2 separate regions of the Homo sapiens genome follow, and region 2 is linked to region 1. The links are contacts of gene promoters, found by promoter capture Hi-C in human tissues and cell types (Jung and others, 2019). All regions are on one chromosome and are shown on one strand. The core of a region is centred on a gene start or on the middle of the fragment in contact, and the rest is flanking DNA. Distances in the headings are between cores, read along the strand shown.

The links. The method cuts DNA at HindIII sites, captures the fragments that hold promoters and counts their contacts. A contact is called where the count stands out against the background at its distance.
Region 2: a contact is called between a fragment that was not itself captured here and the fragment with the promoter of SH3BGRL3 in region 1, in 2 of the 25 tissues and cell types used here (dorsolateral prefrontal cortex and hippocampus).

Annotation. Positions count from the first base shown.
Region 1 is chr1:26,275,062-26,281,665 of GRCh38, forward strand. SH3BGRL3 (SH3 domain binding glutamate rich protein like 3) reads left to right here and starts at 5,025. Exons shown (of 3, transcript NM_031286.4): 1 at 5,025-5,142; 2 at 5,704-5,871; 3 at 5,997-6,461. The coding sequence starts at 5,095. The coding sequence ends at 6,062. CEP85 (centrosomal protein 85) reads left to right here. Exons shown (of 14, transcript NM_001319944.2): 12 at 1-10; 13 at 1,474-1,699; 14 at 2,075-3,747. The coding sequence ends at 2,232. RefSeq lists enhancers at 796-1,995, 4,546-5,433, 5,434-6,320 and silencers at 4,809-5,380, 4,857-5,306. The HindIII fragment of the contact is 5,211 bases long and covers 1,248-6,458 here.
Region 2 is chr1:26,779,682-26,786,329 of GRCh38, forward strand. It overlaps ARID1A (AT-rich interaction domain 1A), which reads left to right. Exons shown (of 20, transcript NM_006015.6): 20 at 1-2,423. The coding sequence ends at 1,075. Among named protein-coding and RNA genes, the nearest start is that of PIGV, 4.9 kb to the right of the region's middle. The HindIII fragment of the contact is 6,774 bases long and covers 1-6,070 here.

The sequences.
Region 1 (6,604 bases), core at 3,775-6,274:
CGTGAAGGAGGTGAGCAACATTAGTCAGACCTCTTGGTTTTGCCTCCACAAACCCGATTTCTTTGTTTGCCCTCCCCATCTCTACCCCAATAAGAGCCCCAGTGTTTGAAAGGGAAAGGTCCCTACTGAGCTCTGGGGGCAGAGGAAAGGTGCATTGCATCATTCTTTATATTACAGACCCTAAGCCTGTTTTAGCATGTCCATAATTATTACCTAGGAAGGTTTTTTTTTTTTTTTTAAGACAGAGTCTTGCTCTGTCGCCAGGCTAGAGTGCAGTGGCGCAATCTCGGCTCACTGCAACCTCCGCCTCCCAGGTTCAAGCGATTCCCCTGCCTCAGCCTCCTGTGTAGCTGGGACTACAGGCACGCGCCACCACGCCCGGCTAATTTTTTGTATTTTAGTTGAGGTGGGGTTTCACCATGTTGGCCAGAATGGTCTTCATCTCCTGACCTTGTGATCCGCCCACTTTGGCCTCCCAAAGTGCTGGGATTACAGTCGTGAGCCACTGCGCTGGGCCCAGGAATGCTTTTTGATGGGGAAAGTCATTCTCTCTTCCTTTGTCTTGAAGCCACAGGTTTCTGGGGTTGGGGAGTGGAGAGTTCAAGAAGACTGAGGATTTGGTGGCCTTCATGCACTAAACAGAGCTGTCAGCAGGGGGCAACCAAGTTCACTGACTGGCCTAGTGCCTAGGAAGGAACCTCCTTGAGTTAGGATTGTCACATGGCCCAGTGTGGGTGGAGGGCCTGGGACTGAAGGACGGACTCTATTCAGACTCTATAAAAATACAATCAAGGTAGGAAGGGAAGGAAAGTGGATTAAGCTGTCAGGAAGAGAGGGAAACAGACAGACATACATGAATAGATGGTTTTTGTAATAAAGTCTGACTCCACTGAGGTGAGAGTTTGAAAAGGCAGGACTTGTTCCAGGGCTGGATCCTCCAGGTTCCAGCTTCTCCAGCCCCCCACCTAGTGGCTACTAGCTGTCATATTGTCTTTCTTACTCTCTTTATTCCTCTGACACACTGTGATCAGGCTGGCTGGTGGCCACTTTTGTCAGGGTGGCAGGGAGAGATTGAAACCAGTGTCTCCTCAGATTTCACGGTTCACATTAAGCCTTCTCTAATAGCCTGGCTAACAGAGTTGGCTGAGGGACTGGCTTGAGATAGAGTTCCTAGGGGCGGGAGCATCTTCTCTGGTTCTTGAACAGAAACTTGGATGCTGATGATTCAGAACCAGTTGAGGGTTGGCTTCCTCTCCAGTGCTAGAGCCCTGTGGGCCCAACCTACCCACAGGAAGAACCAGGCCTGATACTGATAGTGGGAGAAGTGCTAAAAGCCTGTTGGCAGGGGTAGGGTTGGGGAAGGAGGGACACTGCCTATGACTCACCCATCCCTTCCACACCCACACACTCATGCACAGATACTCTTCCTCTCCCTGGGCCTGAGTTAATGTGCTTACCCATCTGTCTGCTCAGCTTTCAGTGCAAAACCAGGACTTGATTGAGAAGAATCTGACACTCCAGGAACACCTGCGCCAGGCCCAACCAGGGTCTCCACCTTCACCAGACACGGCCCAGCTGGCACTTGAGCTGCACCAGGAGTTGGCCAGTTGCCTTCAAGATCTGCAGGCTGTCTGTAGCATTGTGACCCAGAGGGCCCAGGGCCATGACCCCAATCTCTCCCTGCTCCTGGGCATTCACTGTGAGTCCTCAGACCAGTCTGGGGCCCAGGAAGGAGGGTCCTTCTTTCTCTTCTCTCCCCCATCCTGCTTTCCCATATTCTTGTGGTAATATGTAGACAGAGTACATAGTCCTGGCCACTGCCCTCTGGACATTTATTTGTTTCACAAAGTAGGTGTTCACAAATCTGTTTTTGGAAACAAGCTATGGGGTACTTGCATGCAGGACAAACTAAAAGTGGACCTTCAGCAGCAAATTAACCCACTGTCCCCAGATGCTTTTTTTAAAGTGCATGTCCCAAGACTGTGGGTTCAAGATACTGCCTATCCATACTGCACCCTCCACATGAAAATGTCTCATAACTAACATTCTCTTGAAATGCTCTTCTCCCCAGCAGCACAGCACCCAGAGACTCAGCTAGATTTGCAGAAGCCAGATGTGATCAAGAGGAAACTAGAAGAGGTTCAACAGCTGCGTCGTGACATTGAGGACTTAAGGACCACCATGTCAGACAGATATGCCCAGGACATGGGAGAAAACTGTGTCACACAGTGAGGAATTCTGGGGGATTCCCCCAGGGAGGAGCTGGGCTGCTGAGAGCCTAGTCCAGCAGGTTTCTGCCCTGACATTCTCTTGTCTGCTATTCCCAGAGAGGTCTCAGAGGGGAGGGGAGAGCCTGCATCTGGGGGCCAAGGGCTGATTAGGGAACTGTGTCCTACCCACACTGGCATGTTGGATTACGTTTGTCCTGTTAATTCACTCTAGACGGTGAGTTACTAATTAACTTTTGGCAGGTACAACAGATAAGTCCTCACAAACTGTTCCCAGCCCTAGGCTGACATGAGAGACGAACAGGCTGTCCACCTTTCTTCTCCATCCAATGGGATGGATCCATGTTCATTCCCACTTCACACCTTGGTCCTGCTGATTAGAGAGCTCATCAGAGGGGCCTGGAAAGGCTGAGCAAGTACCAGTGACAATGGCCATTTAAGAATTCTCAGGCCCCATGTGCCAGCCTTCTTGGGAACTGAGCTGGCTTTCTGGGTTTTCTCATGCCTGGTCTTACTGCTTCTTCCTCAGGGCTCTTGTTCTCCCAGAAGCCTCAGGGTAATGTGTTGGTTAGCACGTAACTACTAGGATTGGGGCCCTAGGGATTATAGCCAGGACTCTAATCTGCCTACCATGCCATTTAACAAGAGATCCCACTCTCCAGCTGCCTTGTGTCCCTAGGGTCCTGGCCATGTGTTTAGTGTGCTAAACTTTCTCCTTTGTTCTCAGGCCTTCCAGGTAGTCCCCTTCCTGGACTTAAGAGTGCAAACTCTTCTCTGTGGTTCTAGCCTTGGGCAGAATTATATCCCAGAGACCACAGAGCAACTGTCAAGCTGCTTACCCCCTCACCCAGGGCTACAGCCTGTGCCCAGCCCTCTAATTTGTGCCTCTCTTGTGTTGGGGGTGGTGGGGGTTATTCCTTTCCCTTTCCTGCTCTGGCCTCCTTGAAAGTTCAGAGTACCCAGTACAAGTCAGCTTTAAAGTACAGCTTTTAGTGTTTCCTGGGTTGTTTCTCTGGGGCTTTAGTGAGGGACCTTTGCCCTCTGGTTTTTCTTGCCTCCTGGTTTAGGGAGCATCTCACACTTGTTAGTATCTGGTTGTTGGGCCAGCCGTGCCTCCTCTAGATCTGGAGCCAGGCCAGGCAGGGGCCACGTGTGGGCCAGTCAGCCACTACAAGATTTTTGCTAAGCTTTGGGCTGTTGGCAGCATCTTGGACCTCATGCCTGGGCCTGAATGAGGCTCTTTCTTAAGTGTTTTTACAAGTTTGTGTTTTATTTATGGAGTGACTTATCCCTTCCATTCAGAGCAGCCCCACCCAGCCAGCCCTTCAGCCTCTGGGCTCCTGCTGCTTAAAGGCAGAGCCGCCTGGTTGGTCTCCACCCTGTGCATTGGGAGCCCAGCCACCATGCTGACGGGTATTTTTCCTCATAAAGTTTATAACCAGTTATTTATATGAATCTTTGTTATGTCCATTTGTTTGTATTGCGTATTTTGATTATAAAATAAAGTATCTTAACAGACTCCTCAGTTTTCCATACCCTTCCATCACCACCACCACGCTATTCTACCCCTCACTTTGGCTTGTTAGAGCCAAACACCTGGGTGTTCAGCCAGGTCCCCCAGGCAGCAGCGTGGAGGAACCTTTGGCAGGTCCAGCCAGCCTCATGTCCCTATCTATCTCTGCCACCTCTGCTCCTCTGTCGTTCTATAGAACCAGATCTCTTCCCACTCACTTTCTCTTGGGCAAACCTTCCCTGAGTCATAACAGAAGTTTGTCACTGGAAAGTTTCAGCAGTCCTCTCAGGAAGTTGGCAGCCTCTGGGTTGCTGTGAGGAAGTGGCTTTACCAGAGCAAGGGTTGTCTTTCTGGGCTGTTAACCTGCCTGAGCCCTGGACCAGGGGGACATCTGAGAAGCATGATGTTGAGTGCCAGACAGCTAGGTCTCCAAAGTTGGGCTCGTTGCTGGAGTCTGCCCCCTCAACCGCTGAATTCTTGCTGGGAGTAGTAGCAGTTTGGGAATGCCATCTGCAGCATGGAGCTGGGGTTGAGCTTGGACCACCCCAAGACCTGGGGTGGATCTTAAGGGTCAGCTTGAGCCTAGGCTCTCGAGTCCTGACATCATCCTCTACCGCCACGCTTTCCAGCTGTCAGCCTTGGTCTCCATCTGGTTCCTTGAGGGTGTGGCCTCTGCGTCCTGCTATCACCCTTCCTTGTCTAAACCTTCCCACCTGAGTGGAGAGGAACTTGGGGGAAAATCTCTAAGCATGGGCTCTTCCTGCTGTCCTATGCTTCCTATCCCCTAGGGTTAGTGGTGCGTGTTGGGTGGTGGAGCGAGGGATCCCTTGGAGCAAGGTTCTTAGAGAACTTTGGGTCTGAAAGCAGCTCAAACCTTCCAAAGCCCCAAGCTTCCCTGTGCTATTAGAGCACCTCCTCCTGGAGAGAGCGGCTCTCGTGGCTGGGGAGTTGGATGCACCAAACCTGTGTGCGGCTGGAGAGGGAGGCTTCTGCCAGACCCTCTCCCGGGCCTGTCCTGCCACCCAGGCCCCTCCCCAGTCTCACACTGAGCTCCAGATCAGGGAAGGGCCGAAAAGGACGATCAGGGCAGCCGCAGAAGGGGCGCCCTGCGTGGGACGGGTCCGTTGCGCGCCTGGTAACCGAGGGGGAAGGGAAGGGGCCTCTGGCGTGCGGGGCGGTGTCGCGCAGGTCCCACCCCGCCTGCCCGCGCCGCCCATTGGTCCCGAGCGCGATGACTTGGCGGGCGGAGCAGGAAGGAAACCGCTCCCGAGCACGGCGGCGGCGTCGTCTCCCGGCAGTGCAGCTGCCGCTACCGCCGCCCTCTGCCCGCCGGCCCGTCTGTCTACCCCCAGCATGAGCGGCCTGCGCGTCTACAGCACGTCGGTCACCGGCTCCCGCGAAGTAAGTGCGCGCCCGGACTGGCGCTGGGGGAAAGCGCAGGGCTGTATCCCGGTGCTTTGGACCCTAGCGCCCGGGACCCACCCCCAGGACGGGGGCGGGGTGGGGGGAGTGCGTCGGCGAGGTGCTGGGCACGGTCTCCCGGACCCGGTCCCGAGGCCCCATCCTGAATGTCTTCATCGGGCATCCTGGGTCCTTTGCAGCCGCGGCATGAACTTCCCGTGCCCATCCCCCATCAACCCCACACCCATTCTCTGCACTCCCACTACCGGGCTGACCCTGACCACGACCGCAGCCTGCCCTCCCCTCCCCTCCCCACCCTGAGCCTGATCCCACTTCCCTTCACTCTGACCCCCTCCCCCGTGGCTGATAATCCCTCTCTTCATCCTGCACCACCTCAAGCCTGACTCATCCTCCCAACTCCTAGAGGCCAGAACCCTCCCCTAGTGTGGAGGGGAATGGGGGGACAAAAGCTCCTGGTCACAGCCTCTCTCACCCTGCCCAGCATTTCCCCCATAAATCCTCCAGCCTATCCACTAACCCCTACCCACCCTCTGTCCCCAGATCAAGTCCCAGCAGAGCGAGGTGACCCGAATCCTGGATGGGAAGCGCATCCAATACCAGCTAGTGGACATCTCCCAGGACAACGCCCTGAGGGATGAGATGCGAGCCTTGGCAGGCAACCCCAAGGCCACCCCACCCCAGATTGTCAACGGGGACCAGTACTGTGGGGTATGGGCTGGGGGACGGGGGGGTGGGGGGAGTGTTGGAAGAGGACTCTAGCCAGGGTCATATCTGCCACAAAGCACTTGGGCCCCCTGCATTCAGGTGACCACCCCTCGCCTCCCCTTCTCCAGGACTATGAGCTCTTCGTGGAGGCTGTGGAACAAAACACGCTGCAGGAGTTCCTGAAGCTGGCTTGAGTCAAGCCTGTCCAGAGTTCCCCTGCTGGACTCCATCACCACACTCCCCCCAGCCTTCACCTGGCCATGAAGGACCTTTTGACCAACTCCCTGTCATTCCTAACCTAACCTTAGAGTCCCTCCCCCAATGCAGGCCACTTCTCCTCCCTCCTCTCTAAATGTAGTCCCCTCTCCTCCATCTAAAGGCAACATTCCTTACCCATTAGTCTCAGAAATTGTCTTAAGCAACAGCCCCAAATGCTGGCTGCCCCCAGCCAAGCATTGGGGCCGCCATCCTGCCTGGCACTGGCTGATGGGCACCTCTGTTGGTTCCATCAGCCAGAGCTCTGCCAAAGGCCCCGCAGTCCCTCTCCCAGGAGGACCCTAGAGGCAATTAAATGATGTCCTGTTCCATTGGCACTGTGTCTGGTTGGTTGTGGCCTGGGCCTCCTGGGTCCCTGCCCTGGGCAAGGTTGGTAGTTGTGACTGTGCTGAGACTGCTCTGTGGGAAGGGTGGCTGAGCTGTTCTCTTGTGACTGTCACCTCTGTGTTTGTTAGTGCAT
Region 2 (6,648 bases), core at 1,434-3,933, 500 kb after region 1:
GAGTTCAGAGGCCATCAAGGAGAGCAGCAAGTTTCCATTTGGCATTAGCCCAGCACAGAGCCACCGGAACATCAAGATCCTAGAGGACGAACCCCACAGTAAGGATGAGACCCCACTGTGTACCCTTCTGGACTGGCAGGATTCTCTTGCCAAGCGCTGCGTCTGTGTGTCCAATACCATTCGAAGCCTGTCATTTGTGCCAGGCAATGACTTTGAGATGTCCAAACACCCAGGGCTGCTGCTCATCCTGGGCAAGCTGATCCTGCTGCACCACAAGCACCCAGAACGGAAGCAGGCACCACTAACTTATGAAAAGGAGGAGGAACAGGACCAAGGGGTGAGCTGCAACAAAGTGGAGTGGTGGTGGGACTGCTTGGAGATGCTCCGGGAAAACACCTTGGTTACACTCGCCAACATCTCGGGGCAGTTGGACCTATCTCCATACCCCGAGAGCATTTGCCTGCCTGTCCTGGACGGACTCCTACACTGGGCAGTTTGCCCTTCAGCTGAAGCCCAGGACCCCTTTTCCACCCTGGGCCCCAATGCCGTCCTTTCCCCGCAGAGACTGGTCTTGGAAACCCTCAGCAAACTCAGCATCCAGGACAACAATGTGGACCTGATTCTGGCCACACCCCCCTTCAGCCGCCTGGAGAAGTTGTATAGCACTATGGTGCGCTTCCTCAGTGACCGAAAGAACCCGGTGTGCCGGGAGATGGCTGTGGTACTGCTGGCCAACCTGGCTCAGGGGGACAGCCTGGCAGCTCGTGCCATTGCAGTGCAGAAGGGCAGTATCGGCAACCTCCTGGGCTTCCTAGAGGACAGCCTTGCCGCCACACAGTTCCAGCAGAGCCAGGCCAGCCTCCTCCACATGCAGAACCCACCCTTTGAGCCAACTAGTGTGGACATGATGCGGCGGGCTGCCCGCGCGCTGCTTGCCTTGGCCAAGGTGGACGAGAACCACTCAGAGTTTACTCTGTACGAATCACGGCTGTTGGACATCTCGGTATCACCGTTGATGAACTCATTGGTTTCACAAGTCATTTGTGATGTACTGTTTTTGATTGGCCAGTCATGACAGCCGTGGGACACCTCCCCCCCCCGTGTGTGTGTGCGTGTGTGGAGAACTTAGAAACTGACTGTTGCCCTTTATTTATGCAAAACCACCTCAGAATCCAGTTTACCCTGTGCTGTCCAGCTTCTCCCTTGGGAAAAAGTCTCTCCTGTTTCTCTCTCCTCCTTCCACCTCCCCTCCCTCCATCACCTCACGCCTTTCTGTTCCTTGTCCTCACCTTACTCCCCTCAGGACCCTACCCCACCCTCTTTGAAAAGACAAAGCTCTGCCTACATAGAAGACTTTTTTTATTTTAACCAAAGTTACTGTTGTTTACAGTGAGTTTGGGGAAAAAAAATAAAATAAAAATGGCTTTCCCAGTCCTTGCATCAACGGGATGCCACATTTCATAACTGTTTTTAATGGTAAAAAAAAAAAAAAAAAATACAAAAAAAAATTCTGAAGGACAAAAAAGGTGACTGCTGAACTGTGTGTGGTTTATTGTTGTACATTCACAATCTTGCAGGAGCCAAGAAGTTCGCAGTTGTGAACAGACCCTGTTCACTGGAGAGGCCTGTGCAGTAGAGTGTAGACCCTTTCATGTACTGTACTGTACACCTGATACTGTAAACATACTGTAATAATAATGTCTCACATGGAAACAGAAAACGCTGGGTCAGCAGCAAGCTGTAGTTTTTAAAAATGTTTTTAGTTAAACGTTGAGGAGAAAAAAAAAAAAGGCTTTTCCCCCAAAGTATCATGTGTGAACCTACAACACCCTGACCTCTTTCTCTCCTCCTTGATTGTATGAATAACCCTGAGATCACCTCTTAGAACTGGTTTTAACCTTTAGCTGCAGCGGCTACGCTGCCACGTGTGTATATATATGACGTTGTACATTGCACATACCCTTGGATCCCCACAGTTTGGTCCTCCTCCCAGCTACCCCTTTATAGTATGACGAGTTAACAAGTTGGTGACCTGCACAAAGCGAGACACAGCTATTTAATCTCTTGCCAGATATCGCCCCTCTTGGTGCGATGCTGTACAGGTCTCTGTAAAAAGTCCTTGCTGTCTCAGCAGCCAATCAACTTATAGTTTATTTTTTTCTGGGTTTTTGTTTTGTTTTGTTTTCTTTCTAATCGAGGTGTGAAAAAGTTCTAGGTTCAGTTGAAGTTCTGATGAAGAAACACAATTGAGATTTTTTCAGTGATAAAATCTGCATATTTGTATTTCAACAATGTAGCTAAAACTTGATGTAAATTCCTCCTTTTTTTCCTTTTTTGGCTTAATGAATATCATTTATTCAGTATGAAATCTTTATACTATATGTTCCACGTGTTAAGAATAAATGTACATTAAATCTTGGTAAGACTTTTGTGAAGCTTTTTATTGTTTTCAAACTAAAACTTGACCTTTTGTCGGGGGGCAGGGGGATAGTCCTGTTTTTGCAAACCTCCCTTAGTGTGAGATCTCCCCTAAATAGTGGCATTCCTGGACCCTGTCATTTATTTACTATATTCCAAAATAAGACAACCATTTATCTGGAGGCAATCTCCAACTTAATCACTTATAATATCTCTGGACTGGCTCTTTTCCCTGACTCCAGACTAGAGCATTCAGCCACCTTTCTTGTCATCCCTGCTTGGAAGTTTACTTTGAACATGCCAAAGCTAAAATGTCCTGTCTTCCCCCACTAGAAACCTGCTTCTCCCATAGTTTTGGTTTTTTTGTTTGTGTTTTCCTTTTAGTAAATGGCAACTCCATTCTATCACTTGGCTAAAAAAATCCTTGACTTCTTTCACTTCCACATCCAATCTGTTAGCACTCTTCATAAAATAATCCTCAATCCCACACTACTGTAGTTCAAGATACTGTCATATCTTGGATTCTTGAAATACCTCCAAATTGGCCTCCCTGCTTCTGCTTTGCCTGGTTGAACCTATTCTCAACAGAGCAACCAAAAGGACCCCTATAAAAGGTAAGTCAGATCAAACGCCTTCAGTGCTTCTGACTCAGTAAGTAAAAATCCAGACTCTTAAAAAGTGGCCTACAAGGCCCTGAGTTATCTAGCTTACCTCTACCTTTCCTGCACCATCTGTCTTGCCCGTTGCTCACCCCACTGTATAGAGATGTTTCCACCTTGGAGTCTTTGTACTTTATACTCTCTCACCAAATAACTGCATGGCTCAAGTCCTCGACTGCTTCAAGTCTTTGTCCAAATATATAAGTAAGGCTTTTCATGGTCACCTTACTTAGAATAGCAATCTCTGCCCCCCACTATGTTTCCCTTGTCTGCCTTATTTTTCCTGTGGCACTTGTTACTGTCTGGCCTGTTGTGTGTTGTACTTACCTGTCACCTTCCACTGAAATGTAAACTGAGGGTGGTGGGAGGGGTGTTTTGTTCACTGCTGCATCCTGGTGCTAACACATAGACTGGCACATAGCATCTACTTAAGTAGTAGTTGAATGATACTGTCGATGTTGGCTAGATGCAGTTGCTTTTATGAGGCTAATGTCACAATATATAGTTTCTCTGTTCACCCCCTTCCTTAGGGAAACAATAGAGAAGCCTCAAGTTCCTCAGGAGAAATCAGAAGCAGAAAGAGAAAAAATGCTATCATTGTGGACACTTAGAAGTGAAATTTGAAACAAGAAACAACAGTTTTCTATTGTGTACCTACTTATATTCTGGACATAGCACATCACAATCCTACAACAATCCTGTGCCTGTGAAGTCAGTATGTGGCTCCCATTTTACAGTTGAAGAAAGAGGCTAAGAAAAGTGAAAGGCTTTTTAAGTTCATACACCAAGCAAGTTCCACCTGACTCCAAGGATCATGCTTTTCTTAATATACCACACTACCTCCTTTCTGGATGAGAACCCAACCCAGGAGTAAGGGATCTAGCTGTGGAGCTCAGCAAGCAAGATTTGTTTTTATTGTCTTTAGCACGAGGTAAAATTGTCCTCAGAATTTCAATCAAGTGTTCATCAGACTAAGTGTGGCTGTTAATATTTGGGTCAGGAACAGGATTTGAATAATTAGTATTTCTCAATTGAGAGAGGAAAACCTTTGTCAACCAAGATGCGTTCCTAGGATTCTTCTAGAAAAAGGTAAATGGGAAGCTTTTCATATCTACAATTTTGGTAAGCAATATTGCTAATGGCTATTTTTGTTCTAGGCCTCGAGCTCCGTTTGCTAGTCTAGAAATTGCATATCTGGGCTGTGTGTGGAGCATTACCTAGGAGTTCGGTTTCCTGGGTTCCTTTCATCTGCTCTCCTGCAATGCAGGGAGAGCCTAGCCTGGTCTCCAGTTTCTGACTGGAGTTACCATGGCCAAGAGAACTGCTGGCCAGTGAGCTGTGAGTAATTTGCTTTTGAGAAGTAAATAGAACCTAGCCAGCAGAGAACCCAGGGGTGTGGCCAGTAGTTCTTTTCCCAGGCTCCTCCCTCCCCACCCCCCAAATGACCTTAACCTTCTTTCATAGCTGGAGAGCAGCCAAGTCCAGCCTAAACAATACTCTCAACCTCATTGGCTCTTTTGCCTTGCAGCCACTGCCACCCCCAAGTGGCTAAGGCCTTCCCACTAGGCCTCTCAGTGGGGTCAAGGTTTTCTAACCACTGAAAGGCAAACACTGAAGGAATGGTGAAAAATACCTAGTGACCATGGGCTTTAAATGATGAGTGTTTGGGTACTGCAGTTGGAGGCAAGGCAGAGTCTTTGTCCTTGGGTGGATGGGCATCTTCAAGTGATCGGGCAGAGGCCAAAAAGGATGCTTTTGGTATATGAGACCTGACTGGTGTCACCCCAAGTGTCAGGATGGATGTAAATGTCACCCAGCATCTTGGAAACTGCCAATGAATGCCTTTTATCCCACAGCAAAAAGAAGTAGCATAAAGTTCTGGTAAAGTACAGCAGGCCAGTATGGTCACTTTCGCCCCACAATGGCATGACATCAGAGCCAGCATCCCAGATTAGGATCAGCTATTCCAATCCCATAGGACTGGGGCCATGGAAAGTTTAGCTTCTAGAAACTGAACTGCTGAGAGTAGTTGGGCTACTTACTGGGCTGGTCCTCTGCCCAGCCTGGGGCCAAGGCCACTTCCAGAAGTGGAGGCAGGAGCAAGGCAAGGCAGCTACAGAGAGAAATGTCAGTTGCTCCAGGGAAGTGAGTGTTCTGTGAGAACCACCTAACTTCCTTCTCTACACTTTCAGTGGGAAAATCACTTTTTTGTTCAGTGAGTTGTAATAGCCCATCTTTATTGAGCATTGTATGCCAAGCACTATAAATCCTATGAGGTAGATATCATCTCCACCAGGGCAAGGATTGTTTCTATCTTGCTCAGTGTTGCATCTTCATCCCATCACATAGTAGGCATTCCTGTACTGTTGAACAAATCAAACAGATAAGATAGGAATTTGATGGAGGAAAGAGTAGGTCAGAGCTGTTAAGACTTGGTGTGCCCATCTTAGCATAGCCCGTAAAGACTCTTACATATGGGAAAAATGGAAGAGAGGGAAAGAGGTAAATCTGTGAAAGATTAAAATAGTGTAGAGTGGGAGAACCAGCCTGGGAGGCTGGAGACCTGAATTCAAGTCCCATCGCTACCACTAGCTATGTGACTTCTTGCCAGTCACTTACCCTTTGTGATCCTTAGCTCCCTCATCCATAAAATATAGGTATAGGATTAAAGAAATTGATTTATTGACCAGATCTTTATTGAAGACACACAGTGTGCAAGGCACTGTTCTAACTGGAAATACATTGGTGAACAAAGCCCTTGCTCCTCCATTACACTCAGAAGCTTACATTCTAGAATAGGGAAACAGACATTGAAACAAGTAAAATTCATGGACAGGACAAGCAGATAGTGTTAAGTGCTATGAAGAAAACAGAGGCCGGGCGCAGTGGCTCACACCTGTAATCCCAGCATTTTGGGAGGCCAAGGTGGGTGGATCCTTTGAGCCTAGGAGTTCCAGACTAGCCTTGGCAATATAGTGAGACCTCATCTTTAAAAAAAAAAAAAAAAAAAAAAAAAAACAGAACAGACTGATGGGATAGTACAGGGAAAGCCTCTCTAAGGAGGTGACTTCTCTCCGGAGACCCAAACATAATGGGCTAGCCAAAGGGTGGTCTGGAAGTAGAGTGCTTCAAGCAGGGAAAATAGCAAGAGCAGAGCCAGGCAAGTTCAAAGAACAGAAATGATGTAACCCTCTTAAATCCTAAGCTTCTAGAATAGTAATGCATTGCTTGCATTGTTCTGGTTAGGGATTTGTATGTGATATTGTTTCTTGGTGATGTGGGATATGTGCTTCTTAATGGAAATGGCTGGGAAGTGTGGAGTCTTTCTGGAGCCTGGGATATGGCTCTTTCTCACTTGCTTTCCACAGTTCTGGTAGCTCAGCTGGCTCCCTGGGTAGATGCAGGCTCCATCTTAGCTGCAGACTCTACAAGAACACTGAGAGGCTGCCTCCGTCACTACTCAAAGCCTTGGAGTCCCAGAATCCCCTCCTATCCCACCTAGCCTTCTTCCAATCTGAAACCAGGGAGTCAGGGCTTTGAGAGCACAAGATTCAGCTTCCTTGTTTTCCTG